3 separate regions of the Homo sapiens genome follow, and all the other regions are linked to region 2. Evidence: promoter capture Hi-C in 16 types of primary human blood cells and fetal thymus (Javierre and others, 2016). All regions are on one chromosome and are shown on one strand. The core of a region is centred on a gene start or on the middle of the fragment in contact, and the rest is flanking DNA. Distances in the headings are between cores, read along the strand shown. Region 1 overlaps CROCC (ciliary rootlet coiled-coil, rootletin). Region 2 holds the start of PADI3 (peptidyl arginine deiminase 3). Region 3 overlaps CROCC (ciliary rootlet coiled-coil, rootletin).

Region 1 (4,118 bases), core at 1,031-3,530, 320 kb after region 2:
GGGTCTGGGGGGTGTGCCTGGGCTCCCTGGTATGTGTGATACACACTTTGTGCATCTGGGCATACCTTTGTGGGCCGATTGGTGGCTGTGTTGAACTGTATGCTTTTCCTGTCCGTGTGCACCCATGAGGTGGGAGATAGCGTGCTGTGTCATCTGCATATGGTTGTTATAGGTCCCCGGTGGTGGGGGGACTGTTCTGTGCCTGTGTGGGGTTGTGTGGCATCTGGCTGTGTGTGCGGCTAACACTGTGCATATTCTGTGAATTGGAGTGTTTCTGTGTGGCCTGGTTTTAGGGTCTCACTATGTTGTTTGTGGAATGTTTTGTGCATCTGTGTGTCTGTGTGGGGCCCAGTGTAGCCCATGTCGTGTACACACTGCATATCTGTGTGAAGCAGGTGCTGTTTGCCTCTGGGACACAGAGGGGTTCAGGCCGTTGCTGGGTTCTCCTCCCCCTTCTCCAGTGCTCAGAACCAGAGCCAGGGCCCTCTCGGCCACACCTCACCCCTTTCCACAAACTTCACCGTGAGCAAAACAGCCTTTCAATTTTACTTGCAATTCAAAAGGGAAGGAGGCTGCCACTAAGCCAGAGATGAAAGAAGTTGACTGTCTCCCCTAGCAACTGCTGCCCTCAGACCGCCATTCAATTTACTCTTTCCAGGTTGCTATGGACACGAGGGAGCCCAGGGGGTCTGTCCTCTGGAGCCAAGGGAGGCGTGACCACTCCCTCCTTTCCATTCCCAGCTGCGCCTACATCTGCTTCTCAGGGACAGCAAGAAGGGGGGACCCCCATGGGGGCCCTGAGGTCCTCTCTCTCGGCTGGGAGGTGGCCTCTGGGAGTGCCTCAGTTTCCCTGCAGGACATGCAGTTAACAGGACACAGACCTGACCCTCCCTCCGCTCCCCATGCCAGGGGTGCTGCAGGGTTGGAAAGATCAGAACAATCTCGCTGACTGCCCACCAACCCAGCCCAACATGCCAGTGAGGGCCACAGGGGCAGGCACTGCCACCTGTGGCCATGGGGACAAGGGGGTGGCAGGGAAAGAGAATGTTGCCCAACTGCAGAGCCCTGGACCAAGGGTCTCATCCCAGGACCACCACTGACCTTGGGCCTATCATGCCCCTCTCCCGGACTTACTTTCCCTATCTGTGATGAGGTGATCTCTAGGCTCTGAAGTTCTCTGGGGACCCACCCTCCAGGAAAGGCCTTTGAGGTCATTCCTGTTCCACCCCTGCCTCCAGGTGGGGCCTCATTCAAACCATGGTGGATAGAGGACAACTGAAGCAGCGGGCGCCCTCTGCGTGCCATTTGGGCCCCCACTAACCACAGGAGGGAGCTTTCTAGACTAACCCAGACCCCCTGTGCTGCAGTCCCAGCCCCAGCAGCTGTGTCCCAGCAGAGGAGGAACCTGCTACCTCCCACCTCTTCCCTTCCCTGCCAACCTGGGGGCAGGGCTAGCTTCAGAAGGTGGCATTTAAGAGGCGGCCCTGGGGGTGTGGCACTGTGCCATGCATGGACCAAAAGAAAGGGGTGCCTGGCTCAGGGCCCCATCACCACCCACAATTCATGACTGGGGCCAGCGTGCCCTACACACCCGCTGCAGACCCTGGGGAAACGAGCTCTCCACTGTCCTCATGCCAGGGGCCACTGCGGGCCGCCTACTCTGCTCCTCTACAAGTCCCAACTAGTCGTGGGTTTGTCCAGCCAGGCAAATCCCAGGACACGGGCACACCCCACAGTCATACACAGGAACACACACCCTCCTGCCAATGCGGGCTCCAGCCTGGACAAGTCCAGCTCAGGGGTCCCATGCCAACCCTAGCTCTGCCACTACCACACAGGGGACCCTGGGCCAGCCCCTGCCTCTCTGGGTCCCTTCCAACTTTGTGGGGGCCAGCTGTGCCCTGAAATCCCTAGCCCAGTGTCTCTTCCCATACACAGGAAATGAAACTTCAGAACTTTGTTTCTAGACTGGGTTAGTTTAGAAACCAAACAGAGCCCTGGGCTGGGAGTTGGAAGACCTGGTGTCTAACTTTAACTGGCTGTGTGCCCCCAGCATGGTGCTTCCCCTCCCTGAGCCTCTGTTTTCTCCTCTGTTACATGGGCATCATAATGGTCCCGACCTTGGTGTATTAAATGTGAAACACTCAGCACGCGCCTGGCACATAGTAGGCACTCAATAAACAGTAGCTACTGTTAATACGTTATTGCCACCTGCATGCCTCTCATCTGCACACATACACTCTGTCCCAGCTGCGAGTGTCCCTTACCAATCTTCAGCCACCACCAACTTCCCAGGGCCACCTCCCGGCCACCCGGAGGCCCAAAGCAGACAGTGCATCAAGAGCATCCCGCACCCCTCGCACCGGCTCACACCCAGCTCCCGCCCCACACCCTGGGACCCCCACAAGCCTGCAGCACGGGTGATGTGAATCCTGCCTGGACATGAAGACAGGCCTGCTTCTCCTTCCTTCCCTGCCTGGAACTCATTCCAATAGGCAGTGGCGGCAGGTCTTGTGGCTGCCCCAGATGGGCTGCAGAACACCGCGGGTGCCCACACCAGCCTCGAGCCAGCATCCAGCCACCGCCTCAACCCCAAGGCCCGTGGCAATGGGAGATGCCCAGAAACTCAAGGGGCAGGAATCTTTAGGGATCTCATTCTCCGTGTCCCACACCCCTAACAGGCCTGGGACAGATGGGAACAAAATACCCCTGGTGCCAGGCACTTTATTCTATTATCTCCTTGATTCCTACAATTCCACGTCCCATTACAATCCCCACTACAGAAAACAGGCTTAAAGAGCATAGTGATTTGCTCAACGCCACTCAAGGTGGCAGAGCCTCAATCCAAGCCCAGGCCAACCTGACTCCAGGGCCCATCTTTTGCCCCGTGTGTGGGCCTGGTCTAGATGCCTCCCTGCCCTTGAACGAGGGGAACCCTGGCCTAGTCCACCACCTGGGCGGCACCCACCCTCTCGCTGACCGCATTGTACTTAATGGCGAGCTCATCGCGCTCGGCACGGCTCTGGGCCAGCAGGTCCTCCACGCGGGACAGCTCCTGCTGCAGCAGCTGGTTCTCCTCCTGCAGCGACAGCAGCGATGCCATCTCTGTGGCCGGCAGCAGGACTGGCAAGGGACAGTGGGCACATGGTTGGCTTCTGGGTCCAGTGGGACATCCTCCCCCCAACAGGGAGGGCAAGAAAACCATCCAGGCCCCTGGGAGGAGTCCAGATGGGAATGGCTGCAGCACCAGGCCTGCAAACAGAGCTGAGAACAGGGAGGAAGGCAAGGAGGGGATACAAAGCTGGACGTAAAGTGAACACAACTCCAGCTAAAGTGTGGCCCAGCAGGTTTGGGAGGTGCAGGAGAGACACTCAGTCTAGGAGCCAGGAGACCCCTGAGTTCTTGCTCCCTCCTTTTCCAATTAGTCTTCTTCTCCGGGGCCTCAGATTTACTTATCTGTAATATGGGTGGGGCGGGCACGGACTCACGCCTGTAATCCCAGCACTTTGGGAGTCGAGATAGGAGGATCACCTGAGGTCAGGAGTTTGAGACTAGCCTGGCCAACACGGCGAAGCCCTGTCTCTACTAAAAATACAAAAATTAGCTGGGCATGGTGGTGTATGCCTGTAGTCCCAGCTACTTGGGAGGCTGAGACAGCAGAATCACTTGAACCGGGGAGGTGGAGGTTGCAGTGAGCTGAGATTGCGCCACTGCACTCCAGCCTGGGCAACACAGCGAGACTCTGTCTCAAAAAAAAAAAAAAAAAAAAAAAAGGTAGAATAGTAGTAACCAGATCCTCCCAGAAAAGCATCAAAGCCTCGCTCAAGAGAAGGGCTTCATGGAACTTTAAAGGCTAGGGCTCAGGAGAGCATAGCATAGGTCAGGTTGTGAGGAGAAGGAGAAAGAGAGAAGAGGGAAAGAAAGGCCAGCGGGAGAAGCGGGGTTGTCCACCTCCTGTGGGTTCCCCTTCTACCCTGGGAGAACTGGACATACACCCCAGGTGTCAGGGTGAGGGCCCTCTGAGTCTCTCCCTGTCTGGGGCTCCAGGGCGCCAACATCCCTGGCGCTCCCAAGGAGGGGGCCCGTCTGTAGCTTGGGAGTTGAACACAGACAATGGT
Region 2 (4,051 bases), core at 81-2,580:
TTCTTCCCACCCCAGGGCACATTTGGCAATGTCTGGGGACATTTTTGGTTGTCACAACTCGGGAGTGTGCTGCTGGTATCTAGCAAAGAGAGGCCCAGAATGCTGCTCTCCATCCTACAGTGCACAGGGTGGCCCCCATGACAAAGAGGTATCGTGACAGCAGTGCTGAGGTTGAGAAACCTGGCCTGAGGAGAGGGCTGGGAGACTTGAGAGGTGAGAGCTGTCCCACAGTTCTGCACCCTCCCCTCCCAGTATCCTGATTACCTCCAAGCCAGGACCCTGGATTCTCCCCAAAAGCCTAAGAAGCCAGCTCCCTGGTGGTCCCCAGAGCCCAGCTCTTAAAACCCTACCCTAACCCTCTTTTCTTCCTAAGAGAGAGAAGATAAGGCCTTACCTCCCTCTACCATGGGCCTCAAAGGCATGACCTGGCACACAGTAGGAGCATAATGCATGGGCATTGAGTGTCTAGAGGAAACCAGGTTGGAAATCTTTATTTTCCAAGTATCAGAGCAGCTAAAACCATAAGACTCCTGAGTAAGACCACAAGCGGGTTTAAACCCTGGCTTTGCCACTTAGTAACTGTGTGACTTGAGCAAATGGCTTGCCCTCTCTGCCTCGGTTTTCTCATTTGTCTGATGAGATGATGCTAATAATAAGCCTAGCTCACAGGGTTGTTGTAAGGGTTAAATTCAAGATTAAAGTTCAAAACTTAACTCAAGAGACTTGTGAAGCTCTTAGAATAGTGCCTGGCACATGGTAAGTGCTATGTATTAACTTATTTTTTAAAAATGATTCATGCTCTGTTTCTAGGCTCATAGGCTCAGGATGGGGCTGGGGATATCTGCCTGTTCCTATTCTTGTGTGCCCCAGACAGATCCTCAGCCCAACCTGCAGCATCCCTTGGACATAGAAAAGTGCCATCTCTTCGCGGCACCAGCCCCCTCCAAGCCCCCGGTCTGGAGCTCAGTCACTGAAGCCTCTTCTACCTGGCTCAGCCTCCCAAACTTCAAATTCCCTGGCTAAGGTCTTCAGGAAACTCAGTAGAGCAAGAGGAGGACCCAAGCTTCCCTGATTGGCTGCTGTTCCGAGGCCAAGGCTGGGGAGTGGGCCCTGAAGAAGCCCTGCCCAGCCTGCAGGGAGGAAGGTCCAAGGGCATCAGCACCAAGGGCCTGCAAACCACTAGGCCTCTGACTCTTACCCATAAATGTCCACGAGGGTCTCCACGCCAGCCACACACACCGCGCTGGTGGGATGCTCCAGGGACACACGCACGATTCTCTGCAGCGACATGCTGGTGTTGGACTTAGCTGTGGCCGCCAACCCCAACACTGCCCCTGAGGCCCCTTAGGATGAGGTTTAAAAGCCCCTGGCCCCACCCCTCCAGCCCAGGGTGCCAATTCATTGGCTCCAGTCATGAAAGCCCAGCCCCTTCCCAGAGCTGAGAGCTCAGGATTGGCTGGAAGGGACCCAGTATTTGTATACGAACCTGTTGTCCCGACCCCGGCACCCAGGAAGTTAATTTCTTGGGAAGCAAGTCCCCACAGGTACCTGGCTAGGCACCAGGAACTGTTGGGGGCAGGTGCTGTTGAGGGGGTGCAGAGATATATGATATTGATCTCGGACGCTTCTTGCTTCCTCACCTCCATTTTCTGCATTTTCAGAGACTATAATGGGGAGCTTTCTTACTCTGCTGGGGAAGCTGGTGAAAATGCGGATTCCCAGGTCTGTTGTCCACTCTGATCCAGCAGGTTAGGGGTGCAGCCTGGCCTCTGGATTTTTTTTTTTTTTTTTGAGACGGAGTTTCACTCTTGTTGCCCAGGCTGGAATGCAATGGTGCGATCTCGGCTCACCGCAACCTTCGCCTCCCAGGTTCAAGCAATTCTCCTGCCTCAGCCTCCCGAGTAGCTGGGATTATAGGCGTGTGCCACCACTTCCGGCTAATTTTGTATTTTTAGTAGAGACGGGGTTTTTCCATGTTGGTCAGGCTGGTCTTGAACTCCAGACCTCAGGTGATCCACCTACCTCGGCCTCCCAAAGTGCTGGGATTACAGGCATGAGCCACAGCACCCGGCCCTCTGGATTTTTTAATAAGCACCCCCAAAGCATTTTGGTGCCCTTTGAGAAACACCAACTTTTTTTTTTTAATGGATTTTAGAGCCAGACCTGGGTTTCAGCCCTGCCTCAGCTGCTTCCTGGATGGGCGACCTTGGGCAAGTTTCTTTTTTTTTTTTTTTTTGAGACAGAGTTTCGCTCTGTCACCCAGGCTAGAGTGCAGTGGCGTGATCTCGGCTCACTGCAAGCTCCACTTCCCGGGTTCACGCCATTCTCCTGCCTCAGCCTCCCGAGTAGCTGGGACTACAGGCGCCTGCCACGGCTCCCGGCTAATTTTTTGTATTTTTAATAGAGGCGGGGTTTCACCGTGTTAGTCAGGATGGTCTCGATCTCCTGACCTCTTGATCCACCCGACTTGGCCTCCCAAAGTACTGGGATTACAGGCGTGAGCCACCATGCCCGGCCGGGCAACTTTCTTAATTGTTCGTGCCTCACTTTTCTCGTCTGAAAAATGGTTGCTGTGAGGCCTCAGGGGCCAGCGTTGGTAGAGCTCTGGTATGGAGCTTGGCGTTATTGTATTACTATTGTTGCTGTTATTAGGTCCCAAAAACCTCTGAAAGCGGTAAATGATGAGGGTGAGAACTCTCTCCAGCCAGGGGGAGCTTGGCATGTCAGAGTAGGAAAGCTCAGTCGTCAGGTGGGAAACCGAAGTCAGAGGGGCATTCAGGCTCCTGGAAGAGCAGGAGCAAGGGCTCTGGGGAGAGAAGTCTTGGGTTCAGAGGCAGGCTCCACCGTGCACCCACTATAGGGCCTTGGGTGTCAGTGTCCCCCCTCTTGGAGACTCGGTTTCCTCATCTGTAGAAAATGCAGCTAATCACTGGCCCTGGCGGAGATAATAGTGAAGACGCACCCTGCCTGGCGGAGGCTCAGGAGGTGCTGAATAGAGGTTTCCTCCCTTCTCCCTGGCAGTGCTGACAGCCTGAGACAGGATGGGGACCAGGACCCGCTCCCCAGCATCTCCAGCTGGGACATCTGCACCAGTTCAAGGGCCTCAACAGGACCCTGAGATTGTCATTCCCATGTCTCAGTTTTTGGGAAAGATGTTCTTTTCAAGGAGAACTGCTGGGCTTCTGGGTCAAGGGACAGCTTCACTTTTTTCAGCTGTGGAATGGCTTGATGGCTGAGTCAGCCTTGGGAGCCCTGGGTAAGAGTTCGAGCTCAGGAGGAAGCCTTAGTCTCCCTAGCCTTCTTGTGAGCACAGATGGGGAATAGATGCAGAAAGTAGGGGCTTTCCCTGGGGTGCTGGCCCACTACCTGCCTCTTTCTCGGAGAACTGTATATGTCTTTGGAAGGAGACTCATGCCTTCACTTCTCCTCTGTTAATACCAACTTTTAGAAACAGGTTTGTGGTTAATTCAGACTAAAGTGTCAATGACTAATAGGCAGCAACTTTTTGCCCTCTTACTCCACAACAAAAGCTAAAATAAAGTGAGTGAGTATCAAACGGTGTAATTTGAGGCAGCAGCAAATGTGTAGGATGAGAGGGTGATGATTTCAGGCATCCAAAATCAGACCACTGAAGCCAGGTAACTTAGAAGCTTCAGACACAAAAATGGAAGGGAATTGGGCCAGGCACAGTAGCTCACACCTGTAATCCCAGCACTTTGGGAGGCCAAGATGGGAGGATCGCTTGAGCCCAGGAGTTTGAGACCAGCCTGGGTAACATAGCAAAACCCCAGCTCCGTAAAAAATAAATTAGCAATTAGCTGGGCATGGTGGCCTGTGCCTGTATTCCTAGCTACTCAGGAGGCTGAGGTGGGAGGATCGCTTGAGCACAAGAATTCAAGGCTATAATGAGCTGTGATAGCACCACTGCACTCCAGCTTGGGTGACAGAGCAAGACTCGGTCTCAAACAAAAGAAAAGAAAACAAAACAAAACGAAAACCAGAAAGGGAACTGTAGTGGCCTGTGGCCCTGGGAACCAGCCCTGCTGGGGAA
Region 3 (4,345 bases), core at 39-2,538, 280 kb after region 2:
TCCTCTTTCTGCAGCCCCACACATCCATCCTGGCCCAGCCTTCTAAGGGGGCCTGCACACCTGCTCCTCCAGCCCACGCACCCTCTGGCGGTGGGCCCGCTCCCGAGCCTCCAGGGTGCGCTCAGTCTGCGCCTGGGCGCTGCGCAGCCGCTCCACCTCCTGCTGCAGCTCCAGCTGCTGCTGCTGCGCATCCACCTCCAGCTGGGCCGGGCTGTGGCTCTGCTCCAGCACCACCACCTGCGCCTGCAGGGAGGGGCTGTGGTCCGCGTTCTGGCCCAGTGTGAGTGTGTGTGTGCATGTGTGACGGGTTGTCAGGTACCTCCCTGGGACACGGCCAGTGCAGAGGGGGAAGGCAGGAGAGATCCTTGTGTGTCTTCCATCCTGCTGGCCCTGACAGTGAGCCTGCGAGCCCAGGATGAGTGCACCCAATGACCCCCACTCAGGCAGGTGCATGGACACACACACACACACACACACACACACACACACACACACACTCAGACATCATACACACAGGCACAAAGGCAAGCATGTAAATACCTATCTGGACTCACACAGGTGCATGTGTATGTGCAAAGGCCCAACTCCCCCATGCATGAAAACATCTGTACACAAACACATATTCATAATACCTAGACACGCCACACCATGCACAAGATTCATGCTCCATACACAAGAATCGTCACATGGATTCTCACACTGCTGCATGGCCACAACGTACATGAACCCACAGGCTCACGTGCAAACAGGCCTTTCGTGTCTTTTCTGTACACCTTAGGGAGAACCCATCCCTCCATGGCCCGCTGGGTCACTGGAAGGCTCAGGGCTCCTGGGGGAGGGGGTTATGGGCCCTGGGCTGGCTGGGCCATCAGCTCCACTGGAATTGCTGAGCACTCATACTAGGGATGAAGTTGGGGTCCCGGACTGGGTGGGGTCAGACCTCCAGCTGCTGGATCTGCCTCTGCGCCTCTGCCAGCTCCAGCTCAGCCCCCGTGAGGGTGCGGTCCAGGCGGCCCTTCTCTGCGCTCAGCCGCACTGTGTCCTCATGGCTACGAAGCTTCTCCCGCTCCACCTAGGCAGGAGAGCCACAGGAGATCAGGGTGCCAGGAGGAGCTTACTGAGGGGGCTCAGGTTCCTGAACCCTGATGGAATAACCTAACCCCACCAGAGGTAGCAGACCCTGGGGATGTGCAGTGGGATCCACCACGGTTAGGCCCCAGAGGAAGTGAGGGGAGAGCCTGGGGAGCAGCCTACCTTGTCCAGCGTCCTCCTGAGGGCTACACGGTCCTTCTCCAGCCGCAGGGCTGAGCGCTCCACCTCCCGCTTCTCAGCTTCCAGCTGAGCCAGGGCGCGCTGCAGGCTTCCCAGGCGCTCCTGCAGCAGCCGCCGCTCGTCTTGCAGCTTCTGGACGGTGTTCAGGGCTGCAGCCTCACCCTCCTGCCGCTGCCGCAGCACCTGCAACAGAAGCCAGGCAGGCCCCGAATCCCTCTGGGCCTGAGCATACTTATCTGAAGCTTGGGGACAATGAGGCTGGCCCACTCACAGAGCAGGCGACGGTGAGGCCCACATCAGAGAATTGTCACCTGAAGCCAAACCTGTCTCTCTCAGTCTGTTTCTCCATCTGTATAACAGGACTATGCTCTGAATGAACCATGTTTCCTTACTGGAGGCTGCACCAGGGTTTGGGATGAGGTTGAGATGGGTGGGAACGTCCCCACCCTATCCTAGGGCCTCACAGTCTTGGGGACAGAGGGGGCACACCCTGGCCCTCACCTCCCGTAGCTGTTGTAGCTGGCCCTCGGCCTCCACCCGCTGCAGTTCCAGGTCAGCCACCTCGCCTCGCAACGTCTGCACCTGCTCGCCCAGGGAGCTGCTCTGCTTCCGTGCCTCAGATAATGCCTGCCGGGCGGCATCCAGCCGTTCCTGGGGGACAGGGGCTGATGGTGCCTGGCTGGCCTGGGAGCCCTAAGGAGTCCTCTCTATTCTGTACCTCTGGACAGGTCCACAGAGCATAAAACAGGCAGTCATCTCACCTGGAGGGTGGGGTGCACACCAAACCCATCCACGGCCTATCCACTGACCTGCATAAGGTGGGACCCACTCAGACCCCAACTCTCCCCAATAAACCCTGCCCCTGGGTCCCCCCAAGTCTATACCAGTAGCCTTGTCTTCTTACGGGACATACCCAGAGCCTCTTCTCCTTGGCTGATGGTCTACTGGGCCCACGCCCTCCCTTCAAAGCCTGCTCTCATTGGCTCCAACTGACTGCCCCATTGGCTGGCTCTCTACCAGGGCCCCCCTCCAAGCCTGCTCTTACTGGCTGACTCTCTCACTGGGCCCACCCCAGCCAGACCCTGGGCCCGAGACCTGGAGTACTTGGCGGTCATGTTCACAGGCGGTCAGAGCCTTCTGCAGATGCAGGTTCTTGTCCCGGGTGCTGTTGAGGCTGGCACTGCTCTGGGCCAGGGCCTCTGTCAGGCCCCGCACCTTGTCCCGCAGGGCCCCCTCGCTTTCCTCCACCTTAGCCAGGGCCCCATTCAGCCGCTCCACGGTCAGCTGCAGGGTCCCTGCCTTCACCTCGCTGTCGGCCACCTGGCAGGAGGACAGCCAGAACAATCGGGGCTGTTCCCATCTGGCCTCTATACCTCTGCTCCCACTGTGACCTCCACCTGGCATGCCCAATCCACACCCTTCCCACTTCTCTCTGGGCCTCCATCATTGAGACCCAGTGTTCCTAAGCACTCCTGCTGGCTCAGCCTACTGCCACCTGGGCCCCATCCCATTGCTGGCTAACTACTAGTGCCCAGAGTGCCATCAACCTAGTTGTCTCAGACTCCCTGGTCTCCTCCCTGTCCTCACTCCTCTCTCCTCTCTGCTGTGGAAGAGAAAGGGAAACCACCACGACCCTAAAATTTTTTTATTTTTGACCTTGTTGGGTGTTCAGGCAAGGCTAGCCGTATTATTTAACATTCCAGTTAGAGCTGAGCTTCCTAGCAGTCAAGGCAAAAAGGGAAATGAGTGAAACCTACATCTCTAACTTGTCCCAGATGACTCCTATGTATGCAGATGCTGTCATCAAATAGTCCTGAATTCTAATTTTGGCTCTGCCTCTTACTAGCTATGGGATCTTAGACAATGACATCACCTCTCAGCCTCCATTTGTCCATCTGTGAAATGGGGATGTGGGTAATACTTGCCTCACAGGGTTGTTGGGGGACTGCGTAGTGCCTACAAAGCTCTTGGCACAGGGCATGTGAACACTGTGGCTGTGATTTGGGGAGGGGCCCACCTGTCTCTGCAGGGAATCCACCCGATCCTGGAGGGCCTGGGCTTGGGCCTCGCGGTCACTGAGGCCCAGGCGGCTGCGCTGCAGCTCCCCCTCAAGCGAGCGCCGCTGCAGCTCCAGCTTGACAGTGCGGCTCTCGGAGGCGTCCAGAACCTCCTTCAGGCGCCGCTTGTCGCCCTCCAGCTTTGTCTCATTGGCCTTCATCTTGCTGATCTTCTCCTGCAGGTGGCATGGGGCTCAGGCCCAGACGTCCAGTGCACCCCGCAGCCCTCCCGCACACGCCCTGGGGCCCTTAGGGGGAAAGTGGGGAGCAGCCTCGAAGGGTGACCTACGTGACCTGGGGCCGGCCTGGGACCCTCTGGGGTCCTCGGTCTCCCCATGCGTTCCCAGGATGAGTGGACGTGAAGATCCCAGAGCCCACCTTCCAGTTTTAGCCCAGGCCAATGGGCTGTGGAACCCAGGACTGCCCCTTCGCGCCCTATGGCCCCATTTCATATCTGTACAGTAGGGACACTGGATTGGTCCCAGGGTACCACAACCTGGGTGCTCACAGGAGCCCTGAGGAGGGGCTGTAGAAATGCAGATTCCAAGGCCCTTCTCCTGCCCCACTGACTCGTGCAAACTGAGCTGAGCCGGACAGTTCTGAGGGGGCCCTGCTGTTCTAGGGTTTCAGGTGGTGATTCCCCCTCCCCTGCCCAGGGTCAGCCAGTGAAAAAGGCCTGGGGAGTGGGGATGGGACAGGAAGGCAGACTAGGGGTCCTCCCATCCCTGGTACTATCCTAGAGACAGGGTGGATCAACAGGGGGTGTTATTAGAGCCTCCCCAGCCCCTATCCTGAGCCTGGCCCCTCTGCCACCCTGCCCAGAGCCCCAGCCCTGCCCTGTCTGGGGCCCCCACTCTGGCTCCTGCCCAGCTTTGTTCCTGGCCTCCTCCTGCAGCCCCTGCGGCTGGGCCCATGGCCAGGGTTGAAGCCGCAGACACAACAATCCAGCTAAGCTCGGCCCCAGGCCAGAGGCCTTGGGGGCGGGGGTGGTGGGGGGAAGCAGTAATAGAGGGACA

What was found. Contacts are between HindIII fragments. The CHiCAGO score rates a contact against its expected background, and 5 or more counts as called.
Region 1: a fragment that was not itself captured here is called in contact with the fragment with the promoter of PADI3 in region 2 in 1 of 17 cell types (neutrophils); the score reaches 11.1 in neutrophils.
Region 3: a fragment that was not itself captured here is called in contact with the fragment with the promoter of PADI3 in region 2 in 2 of 17 cell types (neutrophils and M0 macrophages); the score reaches 14.4 in neutrophils.

What each region holds. Positions count from the first base shown.
Region 1 is chr1:16,923,330-16,927,447 of GRCh38, reverse strand. CROCC (ciliary rootlet coiled-coil, rootletin) reads right to left here. Exons shown (of 37, transcript NM_014675.5): 3 at 2,969-3,123. Among named protein-coding and RNA genes, the nearest start is that of CROCC, 3.5 kb to the right of the region's middle. RefSeq lists enhancers at 553-1,163, 2,993-3,603, 3,787-4,118. The HindIII fragment of the contact is 6,523 bases long and covers 1-4,118 here.
Region 2 is chr1:17,246,377-17,250,427 of GRCh38, reverse strand. It overlaps PADI3 (peptidyl arginine deiminase 3), which reads right to left and starts at 1,330. Exons shown (of 16, transcript NM_016233.2): 1 at 1,199-1,330. The coding sequence starts at 1,290. The HindIII fragment of the contact is 2,587 bases long and covers 1,066-3,652 here.
Region 3 is chr1:16,967,363-16,971,707 of GRCh38, reverse strand. CROCC (ciliary rootlet coiled-coil, rootletin) reads right to left here. Exons shown (of 37, transcript NM_014675.5): 31 at 3,290-3,505; 32 at 2,368-2,592; 33 at 1,774-1,923; 34 at 1,255-1,455; 35 at 941-1,072; 36 at 61-243. Among named protein-coding and RNA genes, the nearest start is that of MFAP2, 11 kb to the left of the region's middle. The HindIII fragment of the contact is 457 bases long and covers 1,060-1,516 here.